Regions from separate parts of the Homo sapiens genome. Here region 1 is linked to region 2. Evidence: promoter capture Hi-C in human tissues and cell types (Jung and others, 2019). All regions are on one chromosome and are shown on one strand. The core of a region is centred on a gene start or on the middle of the fragment in contact, and the rest is flanking DNA. Distances in the headings are between cores, read along the strand shown. Region 1 has its middle 17 kb from the start of BTNL8. Region 2 holds the start of TRIM7 (tripartite motif containing 7).

What was found. The method cuts DNA at HindIII sites, captures the fragments that hold promoters and counts their contacts. A contact is called where the count stands out against the background at its distance.
Region 1: a fragment that was not itself captured here is called in contact with the fragment with the promoter of TRIM7 in region 2 in 2 of the 25 tissues and cell types used here (pancreas and spleen).

The regions. Positions count from the first base shown.
Region 1 is chr5:180,879,088-180,885,951 of GRCh38, forward strand. No RefSeq gene overlaps it. Among named protein-coding and RNA genes, the nearest start is that of BTNL8, 17 kb to the right of the region's middle. The HindIII fragment of the contact is 4,215 bases long and covers 3,407-6,864 here.
Region 2 is chr5:181,203,870-181,206,445 of GRCh38, forward strand. It overlaps TRIM7 (tripartite motif containing 7), which reads right to left and starts at 1,327. Exons shown (of 7, transcript NM_203293.3): 1 at 720-1,327. The coding sequence starts at 1,241. RefSeq lists silencers at 586-655, 696-1,025, 1,286-1,605. The HindIII fragment of the contact is 13,460 bases long and covers 1-2,576 here.

The sequences.
Region 1 (6,864 bases), core at 4,264-6,763, 320 kb before region 2:
GGGTTATTTTTCTGCTATTGTGTTTTAATTGTTCTTTATAAATTTTACCCTTTATCAGATATGTGGTTGCAATTGTTTTCTCAAAGTTTGTAGGTTGTCTTTTCTCTTTGTTGATTGTTTCCTTCGGTGTGCAGAAGCATTTTAGTTTGAGGTGGTACCATTTATATATTTTTATTATTGTGCTTGAGTTTTTGAGGTGATACCCAAATTATTGTCAAGGCCAACGTTGAGGAGCTTTCCCTCTGTGTTCTCTTCTAGGAGTTGTATGGTGTCAGGTTTTATACTTATGTCTTTTATCCATTTTGGGTTGATTTTTGAGCATGGCATAAGATAAGAATCTAATTGTATTCCTTTGCATGTGTAAATCCAGTTTTCCCAGCACCATTTATTGGAGAGACTATCTGTTCCTCATTGTGTCCTCTTGTGCCATTGTCAAAAATTAGTTGACCATAGATGTTTGGATTTATTTGTGGGCTCTCTTCTCTGTTCCACTGGTCTGCATGTCTTTTTTTATACCAGCACAATACTGTTTTTATTACTCTAGCTTTATAATACAATTTTAAATTAGGAAGTGTAAAGCCATCAGCTTTGTTTGTCTTTCTCAGTATTGCTTTTGCTATTTGGGTTATTTTGGCTCCATATAGGTTTTAGAATTGTTTTTTCTATTTCCATAAACAATGCCATTGGAAGTTTGATAGAGATTGCATTAAATCTGTATATTGCTTTGAGTAGTGTGGACATTTTACCAATATTAATTCTTCCCATTCATCAACACAGAATATCTTTCAATTCATTTTTGTCTTCTTCAATTTCCTTCATCAATGTTTTAAAAATTTCTGAAGACTAATCTTTCATCACCTTGTTAAATTTATCCCCTTGTTAAATTTATTCCTAGGTATTTTTTGATGCTATCGTAATAGGATTTTTTCTTAATTTCTTTTTCAAATACTTGTTTGTTAGTCTATATAATTGCCACTGATTTTTATATGTTAATTGTGTATCCTAAAACTCTACTGAATTCATTTATTAGCTCTACTTTTTTTGTGTGTATAATCTTTGCAATTTTCTACACATAGGATCATGCTATCTGCAAATAGAGATAGTTTCACATCTTTTTTATTTGGATGCCTTTTATTTCTTTTTCTTGTTTGATTGGTCTTGCTAATATTTCTAGTGCTATTCTGAATAAAATTGGTGAGAGTGGACATTTATGTCTTGTTCTGGATCATAGAGGAAAAGCTTTTAGTTTTACCCCATTGATTACAGTGTTAGCTGTGGGCTTTTTTATAAATGACATTTATTAAGTAGAGGAATTTTAGTTTTTTCTATTATTATACTTTAAGTTCTAGGGTACATGTGTACAACGTGCAGGTTTATTACATAGGTATACACATGCCATGTTGGTTTGCTGCACCCATCAACTCGTCATTTACATTAGGTATTTCTCCTAATGCTATCCCTCTCCGAGCCCCCCCCACCCCCGACAGGCCCCATTGTGTGATGTTCCCCTCCCCGTGTCCATGTGTTCTCATTGTTCAACTCCCACCTATGAGTGAGAACATGCAGTGTTTGGTTTTCTGTCCTTGTGATAGTTTGCTTAGAATGATGGTTTCCAGCTTCATCCATGTCCCAGCAAAGGACTTGAACTCATCCTTTTTTATGGCTGCATAATATTCCATGATGTATATGTGCCACATTTTCTTAATCCAGTCTATCATTGATGGACATTTGGGTGTGTTCCAAGTCTTTGCTACTGTGAATAGTGCCACAGTAAACATAAGTGTGCATGTGTCTTTATAGTAGAATGATTTATAATCCTTTGAGTATATACCCAGTAATGGGATCACTGGGTCAAAGGGTATTTCTAGTTCTAGATCCTTGAGGAATCACCACACTGTCTTCCACAATGGTTGAACTAATTTACACTCCCACCAACAGTGTAAAAGCATTCCTATTTCTCCACATCCTCTCCAGCATCTGTTGTTTCCTGACTTTTTAATGATCGCCATCCTAACTGGCATGAGATGGTATCTCATTGTGGTTTTGATTTGCATTTCTCTGATGACCAGTCATGATGAGCATTTTTTCATATGTCTGTTGGCTGCATAAATGTCATCTTTTGAGAAGCGTCTGTTCATATCCTTTGCCCACGTTTTGATGGGTTTTTTTTCTTGTAAATTTGTTTAAGTTCTTTGTAGATTCTGGATATTATCCCTTTGTCAGATGGATAGATTGCAAAAATTTTCTCCCATTCTGTAGGTTGCCTGTTCACTCTGATGATAGTTTCTTTTGCTATGCAGAAGCTCTTTAGTTTAATTAGATCCCATTTGTCAATTCTGGCTTTTGTTGCCCTTGCTTTTGGTGTTTTAGTCATGAAGTCTTTGCCCATGCTTATGTCCTGAATGGTATTGCCTAGGTTTTCTTCTAGGGTTTTTATGGTGTTAGGTCTTACATTTAAGACTTTACTCCATCTTGAGTTAATTTTTGTATACAGTGTAAGGAAGGGATCCAGTTTCAGCTTTCTACATATGACTAGCCAGTTTTCCCAGCACCATTTATTAAATAGGGAATCCTTTAAGCATTGCTTGTTTTTGTCAGGTTTGTCAAAGATCAGATGGTTGTAAATGTGTGGTATTATTTCTGAGGCCTCTGTTCTGTTCCATTGGTCTATATGTCTGTTTCGGAACCAGTACCATGCTGTTTTGGTTACTGTAGGCTTGTAGTATAGTTTGAAGTCAGGTAGCGTGATGCCTCCAGCTTTGTTCTTTTTGCTTAGGATTGTCTTGGCTGTGCGGGCTCTTTTTTAGTTCCATATGAACTTTAAAGTAGTTTTTTCCAATTCTGTGAAGAAAGTCAGTGGTAGCTTGATGGGGATAGCATTGAATCTATAAATTACCTTGGGCAGTATGGCCATTTTCATGATATTGACTCTTCCTATTCATGAGCATGGAATGTTCTTCCATTTGTTTGTGTCCTCTTTTATTTCGTTGAGCAGTGGTTTGTAGTTCTGCTTGAAGAGGTCCTTCACATCCCTTGTAAGTTAGATTCCTAGGTATTTTATTCTCTTTGTAGTAATTGTGAATGTGAGGTCACTCGTGATTTGGCTCTCTGTTTGTCTATTATTGGTGTATAGGAATGCTTGTGATTTTTGCACATTGATTTTGTATCCTGAGACTTTGCTGAAGTTGCTTATCAGCTTAAGGAGATTTGGGGCTGAGATGATGGGGTTTTCTAAATATACAATCATGTTACCTGCAAACAGGGACAATTTGACTTCCTCTTTTCCTAATTGTATACCCTTCATTTCTTTCTCTTGGCTGATTGCCCAGGCCAGGACTTCCAACACTATGTTGAATAGGAGTGGTGAGAGAGGACATCCTTGCTTGTGCTGCTTTTCAAAGGCAATGCTTCCAGTTTTTGCCCATTCAGTATGGTATTGGCTGTGGGTTTGCCATAAATACCTCTTATTATTTTGAGATACGTTCCATCAATACCTAGTTTATTGAGAGTATTTAGCATGAAGGGCTGTTGAATTTTGTTGAAGGCCTTTTCTGCATCTATTGAGATAATCATGTGGTTTTTGTCTTTGGTTCTGTTTATGTGATGGATTACGTTTATTGATTTGCATATGTTGAACCAGGCTTGTATCCCAGGGATGAAGCCAACATGATTGTGGTGGACAAAGTTTTTGATGTGCTGCTGGATTTGGTTTGCCAGTGTTTTCTTGAGGATTTTCACATCGATGTTCATCAGGGATATTGGTCTAAAATTCTCTTTTTTGTTGTTTCTCTGCCAGGCTTTGGTATCAGCATGATACTGGCCTCATAAAATGAGTTAGGGAGGATTCCCTCTTTTTCTATTCTTTGGAATAGTTTCAGAAGGAATGGTATCAGCTCCTCTTTGTACCTCTGGTAGAATTCGGCTCTGAATCCGTCTGGTCCTGGGCTTTTTTTGGTTGGTAAGCTATTAATTACTGCCTGAATTTCAGGACCTGTTATTGGTCTATTCAGAGATTCAACTTCTTCCTGGTTTAGTCTTGGGAGGGTGTATGTGGAATTTATCCATTTCTTCTAGATTTTCTAGTTTATTCGTGTAGAGGTGTTTCTAGTATTCTCTGATCGTAGTTTGTATTTCTGTGGGATCGGTGGTGATATCCCCTTTATCATTTTTTATTGCATCTATTTGATTCTTCTCTCTTTTCTCCTTTATTAGTCTTGCTAGTGGTCTATGTATTTTGTTGATCTTTTAAAAAAAACCAGCTCCTGGATTTATTGATTTTTTGAAGGGTTTTTTGTGTCTCTGTCTCCTTCAGTTCTGCTCTGATCTTAGTTATTTCTTGTCTTCTGCTAGCTTTTGAATTTGCTTGCTCTTGCTTCTCTAGTTCTTTTAACTGTGATGTTAGGGTGTCAATTTTAGATCTTTCCTGCTTTCTCTTGTGGGCATTTAGTGCTATAAATTTCCCTCTACACACTGCTTTGAATGTGTCCTAGAGATTCTGGTATGTTGTGTCTTTGTTCTCATTGGTTTCAAAGAAAATCTTTATTTCTGCCTTTATTTCATACCCGGTAGTCATTCAGGAGCAGGTTGTTCAATTTCCATGTATTTATGTGGTTTTGAGTGAGTTTCTTAATCCTGAGTTCTAATTTGATTGGACTGTGGTCTGAGAGACTGTTTGTTATGATTTCTGTTCTTTTACATTTGCTGAGGAGTGTTTTTACTTCCAATTATGTGGTCAATTTTAGAATAAGTACAATGTGGTGCTGAGAAGAATGTATATTCTGTTGATCTGGGGTGGAGAGTTCTGTAGATGTCTATTAGGTCAGCTTGGTCCAGAGCTCTGTTCAAGTCCTGGATATACTTGTTAACCTTCTGTCTCATTGATCTACCTAATATTGACAGTGGGGTGTTAAAGTCTCCCATTATTATTGTGTGGGAGTCTAAGTCTCTTTGTAGGTCTCTAAGGACTTGCTCTAAGAATCTGGGTGCTTCTGTATTGGGTGCATATATATTTAGCATAGTTAGCTCTTCTTGTTGAATTGATCCCTTTACCATTATGTGGTGGCCTTCTTTGTCTCTTTTGATCTTTGTTGGTTTAAAGTCTGTTTTATCAGAGACTAGGATTGCAACCTCTGCTTTTCTTTTTGCTTTCCATTTGCTTGGTAGATCTTCCTCCATCCCTTTATTTTGAGCGTATGTGCGTCTTTGCACGTGAGATGGGTCTCCTGAATACAGCACACAGATGGGTCTTGACTCTTTATCCAATTTGCCAGTCTGTGTCTTTTAATTGGGGCATTTAGCCCATTTACATTTAAGGTCAGTATTGTTATGTTTGAATGTGATCCTGTCATTATGATGTTAGCTGGTTATTTTGCCTGTTAATTGATGCAGTTTCTTCATAGTGTCAATGGTCTTTACAATTTGGCATGTTTTTGCAGTGGCTGGTACCAGTTGTTCCTTTCCATTTCCATGTTTAGTGCTTCCTTCAGGAGCTCTTGTAAGGCAGGCCTGGTGGTGACAAAATCTCTCAGCATTTGCTTGTCTGTAAAGGATTTTATTTCTCCTTCACTTATGAAGCTTAGTTTGGCTGGATATGAAATTCTGGGTTGAAAATTCTTTTCTTTCAGAATGTTGAATATTGACCCCCACTCTCTTCTGGCTTGTAGAGTTTCTGCCAAGTGATCCACTGTTAGTCTGATGGGCTTCCCTTTGAGGGTAACCCGACCTTTCTCCCTGGCTGCCCTTAACATTTTTTCCTACATTTCAACCTTGGTGAATCTGACAATTATGTGTCTTGGGATTGCTCTTCTCAAGGAGTATCTTTATGGTATTCTCTGTATTTCCTGAATTTGAATGTTGGCCTGTCTTGCTAGGTTGGGGAAGTTCTCCTGCATAATATTCTGAAGAGTGTTTTCCAACTTGGTTCCATTCCCCCCGTCACTTTCAGGTACACCAATCAAATGTATATTTGGTCTTTTCACATAGTCCCATATTTCTTGGAGGCTTTGTTTGTTTCTTTTCACTCTTTTTTCTCTGATCTTGTCTTCTTGCTTTATTTCATTAATTTGATTTTCAATCACTGATATGCTTTCTTCCACTTGATCAAATCGGCTACTGAAGCTTGTGCATGCGTCACAAAGTTCTCATGCTGTGTATTTCAGCTCCATCAGGTCATTTAAGGTCTTCTCTACACTGGTTATTCTAGTTAGCCATTTGTCTAACCTTTTTTCAAGGTTTTTAGCTTCCTTGTGATGGGTTAGAGCATGCTCCTTTAGCTCGGAGGAGTTTGTTATTACTGACCTTCTGAAGCCTACTTCTGTCAATTCATCAAACTCATTCTCCATCCAGTTTTGTTCCCTTGCTGGTGAGGAGCTGTGATCCTTTGGAGGAGAAGAGACGCTCTGGTTTTTGGAATTTTCCACTTTTCTGTTCTGGTTTCTCTCCATCTTGTGGTTTTATCTACCTTTGGTCTTTGATGTTGGTGACCTACAGATGGGGTTTTGGTGTGGATGTCCTTTTTGTTGATGTTGAAGCTATTCCTTTCTGTTTGTTAGTTTTCCTTCTAACGGTCAGGCCCCTCAGCTTCAGGTCTGTTTGGAGTTTGCTGGAGGTCCACTCCACACCCTGTTTGCCTGGGTATCACCAGTGGAGGCTGCAAAACAGCAAATATTGCTGCCTGATCCTTCCTCTGGAAGCTTCATCCCAGAGGGGCACCCACCTATTTGAGGTGTCTGTTGGCCTCTACTGGGAGGTGTCTCCCAGTCAGGCTACACGGGGGTCAGGGACCCACCCGAAGAGGCAGTCTGTCCGTTCTTGGAGCTCAAATGCCATGCTAAGAGAACCACTGCTCTCTTCAGAGCTGTCAGA
Region 2 (2,576 bases), core at 77-2,576:
TCCGGCAGCCCTACCCCTAGTCGTCTCCTCTACTCTCCGCCCCCCCACCAGGAAGCCCCGTGGCTGGGAGAGTTGGAGCAGGATGGGCCAGCAAGGAGAGACTGGGGACTGCCGCCCGAGCCTCCCCGCCCCGCCCTCACCCCTGCACACACCCTCGCTGAGGCTCAGCGAGAAAATAGCAAAGAAAGGGCCCCCAGAATCGACAGCGTTGGCACAGTCAGACGGCTCTAGGTGCGCGGCTTAACCCGGGAGCCCCCTCCCTGGACATCTTGGCGAGGTCCTCTCACTCAGTTCCACGAGGTGGGGACTTTGAGCAGAGCCCGCTTCGGGGAAAGAGATAAGAGTGGGGGCAGCGGCTGCGTGGCTGTGCCGGAGACTTCCCGCGGGCAGAGAGCTGCGGAGACGCAGACCAGGCTAGAGGCTCCGAACAGACAGGAAGAACATCGCCAAGTCCGTGGGGGACGTCGCGCAGGCGGCCCAGTATCTGGCCCAGAGGGAAACGCAGTGGGGGTGGGGTGGGGGTATTGGTGATGTTGGGGGTGACAGAGAACCGCGCTCAGCCCGGGAACCAGCGCTGGGCTTCCTGGAATGGAGAAAGAAGGGAGGGGCTCACCCGGGCCTCCTGATCGACAGGCTGTTCTCTGCACCCCGTGCGCGGGAGCGCGGGACCAAGTCAGGGGGTCCCGGGGACCCACGGGGTGGGTGGGGGCTGCGCTCACCTTGGCCTCCTGCACCGCCTCGTCCAGCGGCAGCACGGCGTGCTCGCGGTGCTCGCGGGCGCGGTCGCACACCACGCAGATGGCGCGTCCGTCGTCCTGGCAGTAGAGCTTGAAGGGTTCGCCATGCTGCCCGCAGCGGGCAGCCGCTGCCCGGGCCGCGGCCGCCTGAGACCCGTGCTCTCCCGGGGCAGCCGCGGGCAGGCTGAAGCGCCGCAGGAGCGTGGCCACTGCCGCCAGCTGCCGGTTGGGCCGCAGCTGACTGGGGCGCGCGGGCTCGCGGCACTGCGGACAGGGCAGTGGGAAGGGGGGCGCGCGGGTGGCGGCCCCAACAGACCCCGCGCCCGGGCGCTCCCAGCAGCGCCCTATGCAGGCGCGGCAGAAGCTGTGGCCGCACTCGACGGACACCGGCTCACGAAAGAGCTCTAGGCAGATGGAGCACGTCGCCTCGCCCTGCAGCTCTGCCGCCAGCGCTAGAGCCTCGGCGCCGGTTCCGGGGCCGGTCCGCGGTCCCACAGCCGCCATGCGCGCTCTCCGCGCACCCAGATCTGGTCGCGCCTGGGCGGCCACTGGACCTCACAGGACGCGGAGCTGGGCGCCGAGGGCCCACTGGGAGAGGAAGGGCGGGGCTGCCACTGGGCAGGCAGAGACTCGAGCCCGGGGCGCGCCCGGCTGGGAGCCGGGAGGGGAGGCGCACGTTGACTACGGGCCATTCAAGTGCGGGACAGCGCCCTGCGCCCCGGATCTGCGCTCCACCAGCCCCCGCCCTGGCCAGCGGCCTCTCCCCCTCGCCCCCGTCCCTCAGACTCTCCAGGCCGCCCCAGCCTGACCCAGTCAGCCGCGGGAAACGGGCCGCGACAGGTGGGCGCACAAATGCTGCCAGCGCCACTCCCGGTTTCCGACCGAGGCCGACCCAGCATCGCCGGGGCAAGGGCCTGGCGCTCGGGCCACGGTGTCAGGTTCCGCCAGCGCAGGTTCGCCCCGGCCCTGTGCTGAGTTAAATTTAGAGACTGGAACCTGGTCCTGTCCCCTCACGCGCAAGCGTGGCCTTGTATCCATTCCATTACCTTTTCTGCGACTGTCCTCCGGCTTCTTTACTCTTTACTTAGTATTTGAACAGATAACACATTTATAATTTCCCATTGTATTCAGTATTATTCCCCCCCCACCGCACACACACACACACACACACACACACACACAAACCTCAGCGCTCTCTTGTCCCCCAGCTGTCTCCACAGCCCCGCAGCAGAGCTGCCTGTGTTATCCGCTTCCACACCCTCTCTCCTCGCTCACTCTGGAGGCCACTTGGATCAAGCTTTCGCCCGCACCCTCCTCAGAAACCGCCCTTGCCAATGTCACCGGGAACTTCAGCAATTCTCACCCAAAGGCGAAGACCTCGCCTCACCTCATCTGCCCCCGGATGCTCCCTCCTTCCCGACTTCCCTTCTCAGGGCCTTCCAGGACCCAGTGTCCCCGATCTTCTTGCTGTTCCTGAACCCCGTGGCCTCTGCGCTGGCTGTTCCCCTTGCGTGGACCTCTTTTCTCCCACCACCTGCATGCTCCCTCCCACCTCATTCAGGTCTTGTTTCAAACGTCTCTGCCCACGAAGCCCGCCCCGAACGCGCACACTGTGTAAAGTCGTCTCTTAGCGCGCTCCCTTCTCAGGGCCGGCTCTGTGCCCGCACTCTATCTCCTCTGGAATGTCAGCTTTCAGATGGACTGTACTAGGTTTGTTCACGGCTGAATCCTGTTTTTAGAGCAGTTCTTGGCAAGCTCAGTAAGGTTTTCTTGGATTAAACTTGGTTCGAAATTCAAAAGAGGAGCCGCAGTTCACGGTGGAAAGTAGGCCCATCGCCT